Linked DNA regions of Homo sapiens: region 2 is linked to region 1. The links are contacts of gene promoters, found by promoter capture Hi-C in blood cells and fetal thymus (Javierre and others, 2016). All regions are on one chromosome and are shown on one strand. The core of a region is centred on a gene start or on the middle of the fragment in contact, and the rest is flanking DNA. Distances in the headings are between cores, read along the strand shown.

Region 1 (5,929 bases), core at 2,331-4,830:
GATTGCCTGAACCCAGAAGCTCGAGGATGCAGTGAGCTGTGATCATGCTACTGTACTCCAGCCTGGGTGACAGGGTGAAACCCTGCCTTAAAAAAAGAAAAAAAACAACTGCAGGAAAGAATGTCACAGATGACAAATCAGGGACACAAAGAAAGTGCTGTGGAAGTTTAAAGATGATGCCATCCCCTCTAGTTTGGAGTTGATAAGATGTGGGGAAGAAAAGAAGTAAGAGACGACCCTTGGGATGAGTAAGAACTCAGGACACGGAGGAGACTGAGCCAAGGAGTTGAGAGGGAACACAGAGGCTGGTCAGGGACAGTGACACCGTATGACATCACTGTGACACTGCTACCTCAATCAAAATAACTTTCATTTCCACAGTTTCAAGGACTAAGATTCTTGAGGTAGGAATGTATGTGCCAGTACACATGTGGATGTGTGTCACTGGGCAGAGGTAATACTTGCTAACGTTCATTTACCTTTAGAAATAAACATACTTTGGGAAATGTTCAAAGGAAAATGCAGGAAAAGAAAAGAGTCTAATTTTTTAATTGTGCTACTAAATGGCCTAAAGAAATGCAAAACTGTTTTTGCTTTAGCTGCACACTTTTGATAGCCCGTTAAAAGGCCGTCACGACCTTCTTCTGAGTTGCCTTAACTCAGGCATGGAACAAGATACACGAAATCACATTTTAGCTTAGGCCCTTTGAAAACGTGCCGTGAAGTATTTCCATCACTCATTTTAGGAAACAGAAACCATTTGGAAGTGCCACTCGCAAACCCTCTGGATGGGAAAACTAATTTCCTAAGCATCTGAAGTGAGCTGTAGGGAGTTTCCAGTTCATTTGTGAAAAAAGTTAGCTTACTTGTTTTTCCAAACATCACTCATCATCCTCCCCTGTAGTTCCAGCAAGCAATTCTGAGCTCTTCAGTCTTTAAGCCTCATTTTTAATGTCAGAGAATGATTTCCGCAAGCCCTGTCTCCCCCAGTGCACACGGCAAGCCAGTTTGAGCAGTTAGAAAAATGGGTGTCCCATAGAGCCTCGCAGCCTGGTCTATCCAGGGCAAACTAAGCTAGTGCAACTGATCAAGTAAAGGACTCCAGTGCATTCTGCGCCATTCCGGGAGTCTTAGGGTATTTTAAAAGGTTATCCAGTCTGTGCACATGCAAGGAAGATTTCCGGTGTATTTAATATGGATGGTAGTGCATTTCTCAAATATAGTACTGTGTACATAAGATCTGCTGTTTGTTGGAAAAGCTAAATAACCGAAAATGTAAATGACAAAGCCTGGGAATATGGCAGGGTCAAACAGAGCAAGGATGAAGAAGATTTAAGTATGCAGCGTGTCCTAAGCAAAACACAAAGCATGAAAACTGAGCACAGCCACCTGCAAGGCACCTTCAGCAAGCCCGACGGTTAACAGGGTCAGTTTCTCCACAAGTGGACAGAGGGGGTTATGCAGCAGCCAACTCTTCCTGATGGCAATTTGTGACCCAATTTCATCCAGTGTTTCATGACCAACCCCCCTGAATGTTTATGAAGCAGGAAAGAAGCTCAGAATCCAGGCGAGGCCTCCGGGACAGGAAGTGGGCCAGGCACCTCCACAGCTTCCTATGCCTAAAGTTCTCCATTTCAGCCTCAAGTAGCCGCCAGAAGACCACTAAGATTCCGCCACCTTCTCCAATCAAAACTACATCTAACCAACCTCCAGGGCAGAATATACTGAGGTAGGATTTTCCCTCGTGTTCACTTCTTCACAAGCAGGTTAACACTTGCTTCTCAGGAAACCCCTGTTCCAAACGTCAAAAAACCTCCATGTCTAGCCCAATCTCCAGGTGAAGTCAATTTCTTCTCCACGTGTCCGATGACTGCCATTCTCTTTACGTAAAACTCGCAAGGCTTGAATCCTGTTACTAATTCACCTGCTTATCTATGAAGCTTGCAAAGTGAATTGAGGGAGTGTTCACACGCACAGTTCCGTTTTGGTAAGTTAAAGCGGCCCAGGTTAATTTCATTTTCAGTCACTTTTGAGACTTGATAACTACATCTAAAACAGAGGCATGAAAAACACCCTGAATCACTTTCATTCCTACACAAAATCCCTTCCGAGAAGCGGGGACTGCGCCTGGGCCAGGAAGGGACTCCCCTACCTGTAGGTCCCAGCAAGCCACGCCCACCGGCCTCTCAGGGTTGTTTCTTTCTGGGTCGAGGGACGGAGCTGGCCCTTGCGATATTTTAGGCCCCCTCCTGCCCACACTGGGGCCTGCTCATCCCATTATGCAGATGCAAACTTGGCAGAAGCAGCCTTAAACCTGTTGGCAAAATAAACAAAGCCAAATAAAGAGGAATCTGCCAACCTGAATTGTGTGAAGTGGCCAAGGCCGACTCCACGCACGCTCGGCTTTGTCCCTGAAGCTGTTACAATACTAGTTTAAGTCAGGTGCCTGGGGTCCACCAGCCAATGACCCCTAGCATCCACCGCAGACCTTCACAGAGATCCCCATTGTCTACAAATTAAAGCGTTTTGCAAATTAAACCCCTCCACACAATGCCAAGCTAACTGTGCTCATAAGGCAGTTACCCTCCATGCCTTAAAACTCACATATCAAATTTTTCCAAAAGCACTCGGTGATTAAATCGCCCTGAAAAAAACCGAGAGAGCCGAGCGATTGTGAGAAACTTTGGTTCATTCAGGTGGCTGTTAGAGTCCTGTAAATCTGGGGCAGGGCGCAGAGCCTGAAGCCGGGCACAAAAGCTCCCTTCGCCGAAGCGAGGACCTCCTTTATGCAATGTGACAGCAGCTTTGTGCGCGAACATAAATAGTTGTAATAAACACGGTTAAGTTCTCCCGGCCGATCGCGGCCTCCCCCGTCCCTGCGCCGGGGCCCTGCGATCCGCGGCTATTCTTCCCCGGCACACGCGCCCTGGCGACCCTGGCCACCGCACGGTCCCACGCTAGCCCCGAGCTCCGTGCCGGCCGCCCGCCTGCAGGCCAGGCGCAGCCTGCGCACCCGGGGGTCTCCAGTCCCCGGGCCCCGCAGCCGGGCCCCCTGCCCTGATCCTCGCCCGCGCCCTTGGCTGGCGTCCCCGCCCCTGGGCCGGCCCCCGATGGTGGGGGTTAGGGATGGGAAGGCGGGCAGGAAGGTGCAGAGCCGGGAGGTGCCCGGCAGTCCGCGGTCGGGGGCGCCCAGGCCGCGGCAGGGCCGAGAGCACCGGAGGGGCGCGGAGGGGACCCGCTCTCCTGGCCCCTTCCCGGGCGCACCCCGGCCCGCGAGCCCCGCCGCGCTCCCAACTCCGCCCAACGGCCCCAAGTTTGTGGCCCCCGCCCCACGCCCGCCTAGCCGCGCTTACCTCGCCGTGGGCCGCCCGCGGAGCCGGAGGGCAGCGGCGCGGGTCCCGGGGCGGTGGCCGCGCTGCGCCCGCCCAGGCGCCGCTCTTTGTCTGCGCCGCTCCCTCCTCCCGCCGCCGGGCGGACGCTGCCGGCCCGGGCGGACCCTGCCGGCCCGGGCGCCGCGAGCCTCCCGGCCGCCAAGCCCTCCCCTCCGCCCGCCGCCCGCTCGGCCGCGCGGCTCCGGCCTGACGATCCCCGCGGCAGCGGCGGCGGCGGCGGCGGCGGCGGCGGCGACCCTCCCCCGGCGCGCAGCGCCCGCCTCCTCCGCGCTCTTCCTCCTCCTCCCGCGCTCCTCCCCGGCCGCGCCGTGACGCCGCCCAGGGGCCGGCCCAGGCCCGGGCGCGCGGGGCGGGGACCCGAGACCCACCTGGGGCGCCCCCCGTCGTCGCCAGGCTCCGCGCCCGGGTCCCGGTACGGGCGCCGGGATAGCGCGGGGCTGCGGGACGCTCCGCTCTGGAGGCGCAGCACGGGCCGGGCGCCGGGGGCAGGAAAGGGTCCCCACGCCCGAAATTGCGTGCGGGCGGTGGGGGGCAGGGTAGGTGGGTGGGGAGGAGAGTGAAAACACAGACGGCAACTTCCAGCCTGGGATGACTGCCGGGTGGGCTTTGCGTCCTCTTTTTTGTTTGTTCGTTGTTCTTATCACGAAGCTCTAGTTGCTGGGCAGCCGCCCCCCTCCCGGAAGCATTCCCACGGCACTCAGCTAAGCAGGCCTGTTGTCCATCAGAAAAGTGACTTAAATAAAAATGTCACTTCCTCCCTGTAATTGCTTGTGGGCATTTTTATTTATTTGCTTTGCATCTATTTACTTTCCCAACCAGACACATTTTTAGTCCATCATCCCTGTCCGAGGCACTTCCTAAAAGAAGAAGAAACTCGACCTCTGTTGCCTCCCAGGCATCCAGGCCAGCCCCAGCCTGTGGAATCCTGGTTGCACACCCGTGGGGGCAGAACCCGAAGAGGAGCTGCCCGAATGTGCCCCTAGAAGGAGTGTCGCTAATGATGGGACCGTTCAGCTCACCCAGCCTCGAGTTGTGGCTAGCCTATAAACAAACTTGGAAGATGAAAACCCAAGAGCAAGGGGAAAGACACAAGTTTCCCTTTCACAGACACATGCATCCGGATGTCTTTTCTCCTCCCCATATGGTTTCCCAAAGGAAATCCTAATATTCAAATGATTCTGATTTCCTGGCAGGATAGCCTGCATCCATGTTAATGAGATTCTTTCTTAGGCTCCTGGTCTCTGCTTACTATTAAGGCAATAATAATTTACCCAAGGTTACAAGGCTGTATTATTTGATTCACTCATCTCCTGCTTCCTTCCAGAAGGGAAGTACCCAAGGATAGGTAACTAGAGTCAGCGTAGCTTTGAAGTCAGACAGGTGAGTGTTTGACTGTTGACTTCCTGAACTGTGTAACGTTGCACAGGTGGTCCTCAGCCTTTCTAAAATCTGTCATATGGGGAGATAATATTTACTTACCTCCTATGTGAAGTACCCTGGCAGTAGGTAGCCCTCAATAGCTCAGTAAGTGGAAGGAAGCACAGTACACTGAGCAGGAATCAGGTACAAGCTCAGGGAATCAGAACAGCCTCATTTTTCCTTGTTTTGACCTTGTGAAAGAAGCTACTTCAGTTCATCCTTTTGTGCAAGTTTTGTGTTACTAATATCTAGCTTTACAATAAGAAAAGAAGAATTCTAGTCATCAGTCTGCCCAATTTTAGATTAATTTACTCAAAATAAGTATAGCAATATTGACCCAGTTTGTAGCTTGTTTGCTTTGTAAACTTTCACTGAATCGTGGTTCTTGCATGCCTCTTCTTTCTCTGATTCTTTAGAAGTCACCGATGTCATTCTCTATCTAAATCCAGTGGCCCTTTATCAATCTTTATCCTGTGGAGTTTTCTGAAATATGTGGCATTTCTGCTATTTCCTGAAACACCATCATCTTTTCATTCATCAAACACAGCCAGTTCTGATTCTCTTACCTTTCTGACCTGCCCATCTGCCTCCTCTAGAGAGGTTGTTGTCTTCCCACCCTGTAAAAGTGATATCCCCAAGGCAGATGGTGGCCCTTTGTTTTTATTCTGATACGCACCTTTTTTTTTTAAAGAGAGAGTTGATTGTTTTTTGTACACTCCCTGTCTAAACCTTCATTGATTAACCCCCAGACCTGTAGCCTTAGAGAGCTCCCCTGCTAATCTGCAGAGCTCCCCAGCTAATCTGCACCCCCTAAACATGGCGCAGCATCTCTTCTAGGTCACCATGTTCAAAATGAAACTCATCTGCTCCCCAGACCAGCTCCTCCTCCCATGGTTTCAGGCCTGGCCAAGAGTCTACCAGGCACCTCAGCTCCTGGGAGAAATCTCATTGTTATCTTGGCTTTTCCTTCCCTCTCTCCGAGTTCTCCCCAAGAAAAGCTGGGAGAGCGCTGAATGACACCAAGACCCCTTGCAGACTACCCCCATGGTTCTGAGTCCTGGTGATTCTTAAACATCTTTTCCACTGCACCTTTCTTTCCATTTCCATCACTGGCATCC
Region 2 (5,929 bases), core at 2,497-4,996, 790 kb before region 1:
GTATGTTTCATATATATTTCATATATAATATATATTTCATATATAATATATACTTCATATATAATATATACCTATATATTTATATAACCTATTTTATACATTACATAATATATATCCTTCATGGGGAAGGATTTCTTTACATCCTTCTGGTCTACCCAAAGTTGTCTTTAATAGGCATGTATTTGTTAAATAATCAGGAAAAAAAAAGAATTAACTTGAAAGTGGAAGAAAATGCACATTAATGAAAATCCAGGATATATATTGAGAGTTTTTCCTCACAAAAATATATTTCAGTTTACAAAATAATTAGTAATATAAGGACTCTAAGTAACAATCTCTATTCATGACTGTATTAGTCAAATGCCTTTGAGCACCTCATATGTGTATAAGTCACTCTTTTAGTTTCCAAAGATGGCAAGAGAAGTCAGATCTAGTTACTGCCCGCAGTGAGCCCACAGCTGACCAGCCGTGAACCCCAGATAATGACTGTTATATCAGAGGGATGCGCAAAATGCTGTGCAGACAACAGAGACGGAGACCGTGAACTCTACAAGGGCTGAAGTCCCTGAGGATCTACAGAGGAGGGGAGGCTGAAGGTTTGTCTTCAAAGGTTAAGTAAGAATTGACCAGTTAAAGTGGCAAGTGGCGTATCAGACAGGGAACAGTCAAGACAAAGTTTATGGAGAGTTGGAAGAAGGAAAAGTTGGCTGGAGGTAGAGTGAAGGCTGAGCCATGGGGAACGGTGGTCCCGCCAGAGAGTGAACAGCCTTGACCTCTAGCTTACACTGCAATGGGATGGCTGGCAGAGGCTGTAGTTGAAGCCATGCCTGGGCTCTGGATACAGCTCTGCCAAGATAGGGCAGATTCGTGGTGGAGTTGGAAGGATAGAAGGGATGAAATATGTTGGTAGGTTCTCTATTCCAGTGACTTTCCAACTTTTTAAACTGCAACCTGCAATAAAGAATGCCTTTCACAATGCCACTCAATATACAGAAATATACATGCATGTGTGGTGGACATTCATATAATGCAAACATACATACAATATGTAATGCACTCCCACCTTGTATGGTCTCTATTTCATTAATAGAGAGAGATTTCATAATCCACTAACAGGTCGCATCTTACGGTTTGAAAAATGCATTCTAAAATGGTTTCTCAACCTCATACCTTTGACGTTTTGGGCCAGGTGATTGCTGGTTGTGGGAGCTGTCCTGTTCATTGCACAATGTTTAGCAACATATCCGCTAGATGCCACTAGCATCCCCTTCCCAAGTTCTGACAGCCAATAATGTGCCTGGACATTGTCAAATGTGCCCTGGGGTGCAAAACTGCCCCTTGGTTGAATACCACTGCCCTAACCAAAGGGAAATAATCTGGTTTTGGGGGAAGAGGACGTTTGACCTCACATTCAGGAGTGAGTGGCCCTACTTCCATAGGGGGTCACTAACCACCAACAAGAGAGAAGAAACTGACCAATTTTGAGCATGAATGACGGAGAGGGATCTAGAGTTAGTGGGAGGTCCTAGTGATACACAGATACAAACAGGCATGCTGCAGACCTTGTCACACAGCCAGCGTGCCACCGTGGCCTACCTCAAACCACACCTGCCTGCCTTCCTCTGCCCCAGCCCACCAAGCCTGCCCACCACAGGGCCCTTGCACATCCAGCTCTCTGCAAAACTCTTCATTCCCTCTCCTCCTGCTGGGCTCCTGTGGACCATTGAGTCTCTTAAAGGTCATTTTCCCCAAAAGGCTGTCTCCACTCCCCCAGCCGAATGAAGCTCCCCTGATATGCCTTCAAGACACCCGCTAGTTGTCACTTTGAATACTTACTGCAAAAGGTAGTTATAAGAGTATTTGGGGCCGGGCACAGTGGCTTGCGCCTGTAATCCCAGCACTTTGGGAGGCCGAGGCAGGTGGTTCACAAGGTCAGGAGTTCGATACCAGCCTGGCCAAGATGGTGAAACCCCATCTCTACAAAAAATAGAAAAATTAGCCTGGCGTGGTGGTAGGCGCCTGTAATCCCAACTACTCAGGAGGCTGAGGCAGGAGAATCACTGGAACCCAGGAGGCAGAGGTTGCAGTGAGCTGAGATTGCGTCACTGCACTCTAGCCTGGGTGACAGAACAAGACTCCATCTCAAAAAAAAAAAAGGAGTATTTGGATGATTATTTGCTTGATTTACTTTTTCCCCCTCAAGACTGTGAAAGTCCTGAAAGCAGGGGGTTTGCCTGCTTGGCTCACCCAGAACAACAAGCCGACTTGCTAAATGAGGGAGTGGTACTGCCAGTTGACTTCATTCTTGGTCCTATTTTTATCTGTTTTGAGATTGACATTAATGCGCCTTTGGTGGGCTGGTCTCCTAGGGCTAATTGTCATTTCTTTGCAGTAAGAAATGTTGAAAAGCTTTTTAAATAAAATAATGAAAATACGAATTTCTCACAAAGGCTGAGTTTCTAATAACATAATTATTCCAACACTCATCTTGAGACCACATAATTAAGAAACAGTAATACTTGGATATTTTTTTTAATTTGAGAGGTCTACATAAACGATTCTCTGCATGATTCTTTCTTTGATCATTGAAGCTGTCATTTTCTTTTTTCATTCTTAGGAAATCATTCCACATAACAAAATTGAATTTCTTTCAAGCCATAAAATTATTGGAATATAACATCCACCCTAACTTCATCTACATAACATGAAGTATATAATTTCCACTCAAAATTAATTCTCAATGTAAACAAGAATAACAATAAACCAAAATTCACTTATGTTTACTATGAAATAGATTTAACGATCAGGAAGTCCCATGACAAAAAAGGGAGATTCAGTGACGGGAACAGTGATTAAGTTAGCCAAGATGCTCAGCAGTAGGAGAATACACTTTTTTTTCCCACTTGGCAAAGCTTAAATAATTTTTTAAGTGTCAGATTCTGTTCTTATTTTATCAGCCAAAGGAGGCTTGGTTTCCAAGCCGTGTATCCGTCAAGAAATTGGAATTCAAGCAAACACATATTTTGAAGTTTGATGCATTGAAGCCAAACACTGTAGAGACAATGATAAATATGATATGGTCCATCTTAAAAATGTTTTTGGTGTTTGTGTGAAACATCCTGTAAGCTGGAATTAAGCAGCAAAGAGCAATGATGCCCAGAAGCTGCAGCCCCGTGTGGCCCCCTAATTCCACAGTAAGACCCCTTATTTGTCTTCAGAATAAAAGATGAGCACACCGCACACATGGTATTGTGTCCCAAGTACATCAACTTTCCATGTTTTGGCGTGGAAACAAGAAACATCTTTACTTCAATTCCATAAAGTAGTTCTCTAAATTTTAGAAATATAAATATGTTTGCCTTTTGGGACCAATATATATATTTCCCCTTGAACTCACTTATTCATCCATTTATTTCACAAATTTATAAGGAGCTTGCCCTGTGCTAGGTGCTGTGATACCTGCTGGAGACACAGTGGTGAAGAGACACAGGAGGTCTCAGCACACAGGTGAGACCCACACATGGGCCCCGAGTGCTGTGGGGGCACCAGGCACTCTGCTAAGTGCTTCATGTGCCTCACTCATCAACACAGCAACTCCATGGGGCAGGCACTGCCCTGGCCCTGAAATGAGTGAGGCCAAGGTGTGTAAGTGAACACGTGTTCACTTGCGCTGTGACCAGGTAGAGTCAGAAGTTCAGCCAGCACACACCAGCTGCAAGAACCCGGCTCTGAAGTCCTCATGTGTCACTAGTTCATGAGCTACTGATCACACACATGCAGTCACACAGATAAACAGTCACACCGTGCACAAGCTCTGGGAGGGGGACACACTGCATATGAGACTGTTTCAGATGGCAGTGCCCGGCCTGATGAGGAAGGGCAAGGAAGGCCCCCAGGGGAAGCCTTGAGGCAGTGTGGAAGGGTGGGTGGGTGGAGAGCATAATATGAAGAGGGAGGGGTCCAAGCTCAGCACAGATGCCAAGAGCCAGACCTTTGAAAATATGTGGCCAAGACCCAGGAGTGCCTGGACACACGGAAGCCAGCTATTACCAGAGATAGTGACATGCAGGTGAACATCTGGGGAGTAGGAGGTGGGGAAGGGTGTTACAGACAGGAATTCCTACTCAGGACACTGCTCGGCTCTAGATAGCGCAAAGGTGAATTTTCCAAGGTAAATGCACTTTGTGAGATCTCAAGTGCCACACAGATTCACAGTCACCCTTATTACAACATGGGGAAATTTTAATCACTGCTAATAGTAGATGCTCAAGTCCTAAGATCTTATGAAACAAGCCAAGAAAGCTACTTCTGATCAATTTTAAGAACAAGTAAAGAGAAAAGCAGGCCATTTGTGTACCGTTTCAAGCAAAAAGCAACAAGATGAATATTCTTCATGTATACATAGCCTACATAGGCTGAAGGCTCCATCTCAAAATTCCCCTTCACAGCCTAAACCTTCCTCAGCCCCTGAGTTGACCACCCTGCCTATACCGTATTTTCCCGTTTCTCAAATCACTGGCAAGTGTTATTTGGGAATTGAGTCATATTGGCTAGTTTTGTGCCACCATGAGGAAGCTTGCAAGGTCTTTGGTAGTCAAGCTGATGACTTACGCTTCCCTAGACCAGCAGCTTTGTCTGGGCACACCCAGATGCGTGCAAACACTTTGAGCACTGAAGGTCCGCAGGCCTCCGCAATCACTGAGCATTTGAGACTCCTCTGGGGCCATGCATCCACCAGCTCTCAGCGCAGGTCAGAAAAGGAGCCTCACAGAGACTTCTCATTTATTTTACATTCATTACCCTGCTAATTTCCAAAGCGAGGTGCCTGAAGCTAGCTTAGCAACAAGCAGGCGTGACGGCTGTCCCACGGCTGATTCTGAATGTGCTTTGTCAGTGTGTTTGTTTTTCCTTCGTGCTAACTTTATCTTCAGAACCTATTAAGTTTAATCCCAGCAGTACTAATTAGAGGTGGCAACAACAGAAATCCTCTGCAAGGGCTTTTAGAAATCGACCGCCACTTCAGTAAGAACAGCCATGCTCTTCTTTTCATTCCTTGTCGCTTCCTCGGGCATTCCACAAGGAGCTACAATCTGGTGTTTAGAGAGCTGAAGGGCACTTATAGAACCAAGCTCTACACCAAGTAAAAAGAGATTTTAAGCATATGTGGATTCAAATGAGAAATCTGTGCAAGTGTGCCACACACCTCTCTTAACCTCATTTGGGGATTTCTGTGCATACTGTACTTAAAATTAAGTAAGATAAGCTGTTTTTAAGATGTCGTGTCTTGGTGGCGTTGAACCATAATTTTCTGCCTCCTCAGTGGAAGTTCAAGCTTGTGGTCATACAAGGAAATGTAAACTCTGAAACTGAAGAGCTTCACTAGGACTACTAGGGAAGTGCAAGTTTAGGGAAATGAAAGTTGTCTCCAGGGTATGACATCATCTGATGACCTTGTGATGAGCCCATGGTTTATTAAATGTGTTTAAAACACACATAGGGAAGTGAGGGGTGAGAGACGGGGCAGGTTAATAGCAGGGCAGCATTTGGGGGGAAGCCCAGAGCATGAGGCCTGGTTAGCACCATATTCACATGTCCTGTCTTCCTCTCCCACATCGGTTTTCCCTGCTGATGGGGTGGTGACGAAGACCAGATTTGGAGTTGGATCAGGGCCTCACAGACAAAGGGCACCTAGAGCCAACAGCACAGATGTGTCCTATTGGAGAAACACAGCAACTTGTTCTTCTGAGAGACGTACTGCACTGGCTATAGCTGCAGGTCGCCAGTTAGCCTGCTGGACAGCCACAGTTTGATTGGCATGCTCTGGGCTGATGCAGGGGTAACAGAGCTGTCAGTCCAGTGAGGGCATGATCAGTAACACTATTTGCGCCATCATATATTCCATGTAAGACTTCTGTCTTCAACACATCAC

Evidence for each region. The method cuts DNA at HindIII sites, captures the fragments that hold promoters and counts their contacts. A CHiCAGO score of 5 or more calls a contact.
Region 2: a fragment that was not itself captured here is called in contact with the fragment with the promoter of NCK2 in region 1 in 4 of 17 cell types (fetal thymus, total B cells, M1 macrophages and 1 more); the score reaches 7.6 in fetal thymus.

Annotation. Positions count from the first base shown.
Region 1 is chr2:105,742,563-105,748,491 of GRCh38, reverse strand. NCK2 (NCK adaptor protein 2) reads right to left here and starts at 3,580. Exons shown (of 5, transcript NM_003581.5): 1 at 3,354-3,580. RefSeq lists enhancers at 2,270-2,319, 2,420-2,489 and silencers at 2,860-3,249, 3,360-3,419, 3,610-3,929. The HindIII fragment of the contact is 4,864 bases long and covers 1,943-5,929 here.
Region 2 is chr2:106,536,798-106,542,726 of GRCh38, reverse strand. It overlaps a transcript of CD8B2 not described here. Among named protein-coding and RNA genes, the nearest start is that of CD8B2, 52 kb to the right of the region's middle. The HindIII fragment of the contact is 1,663 bases long and covers 2,915-4,577 here.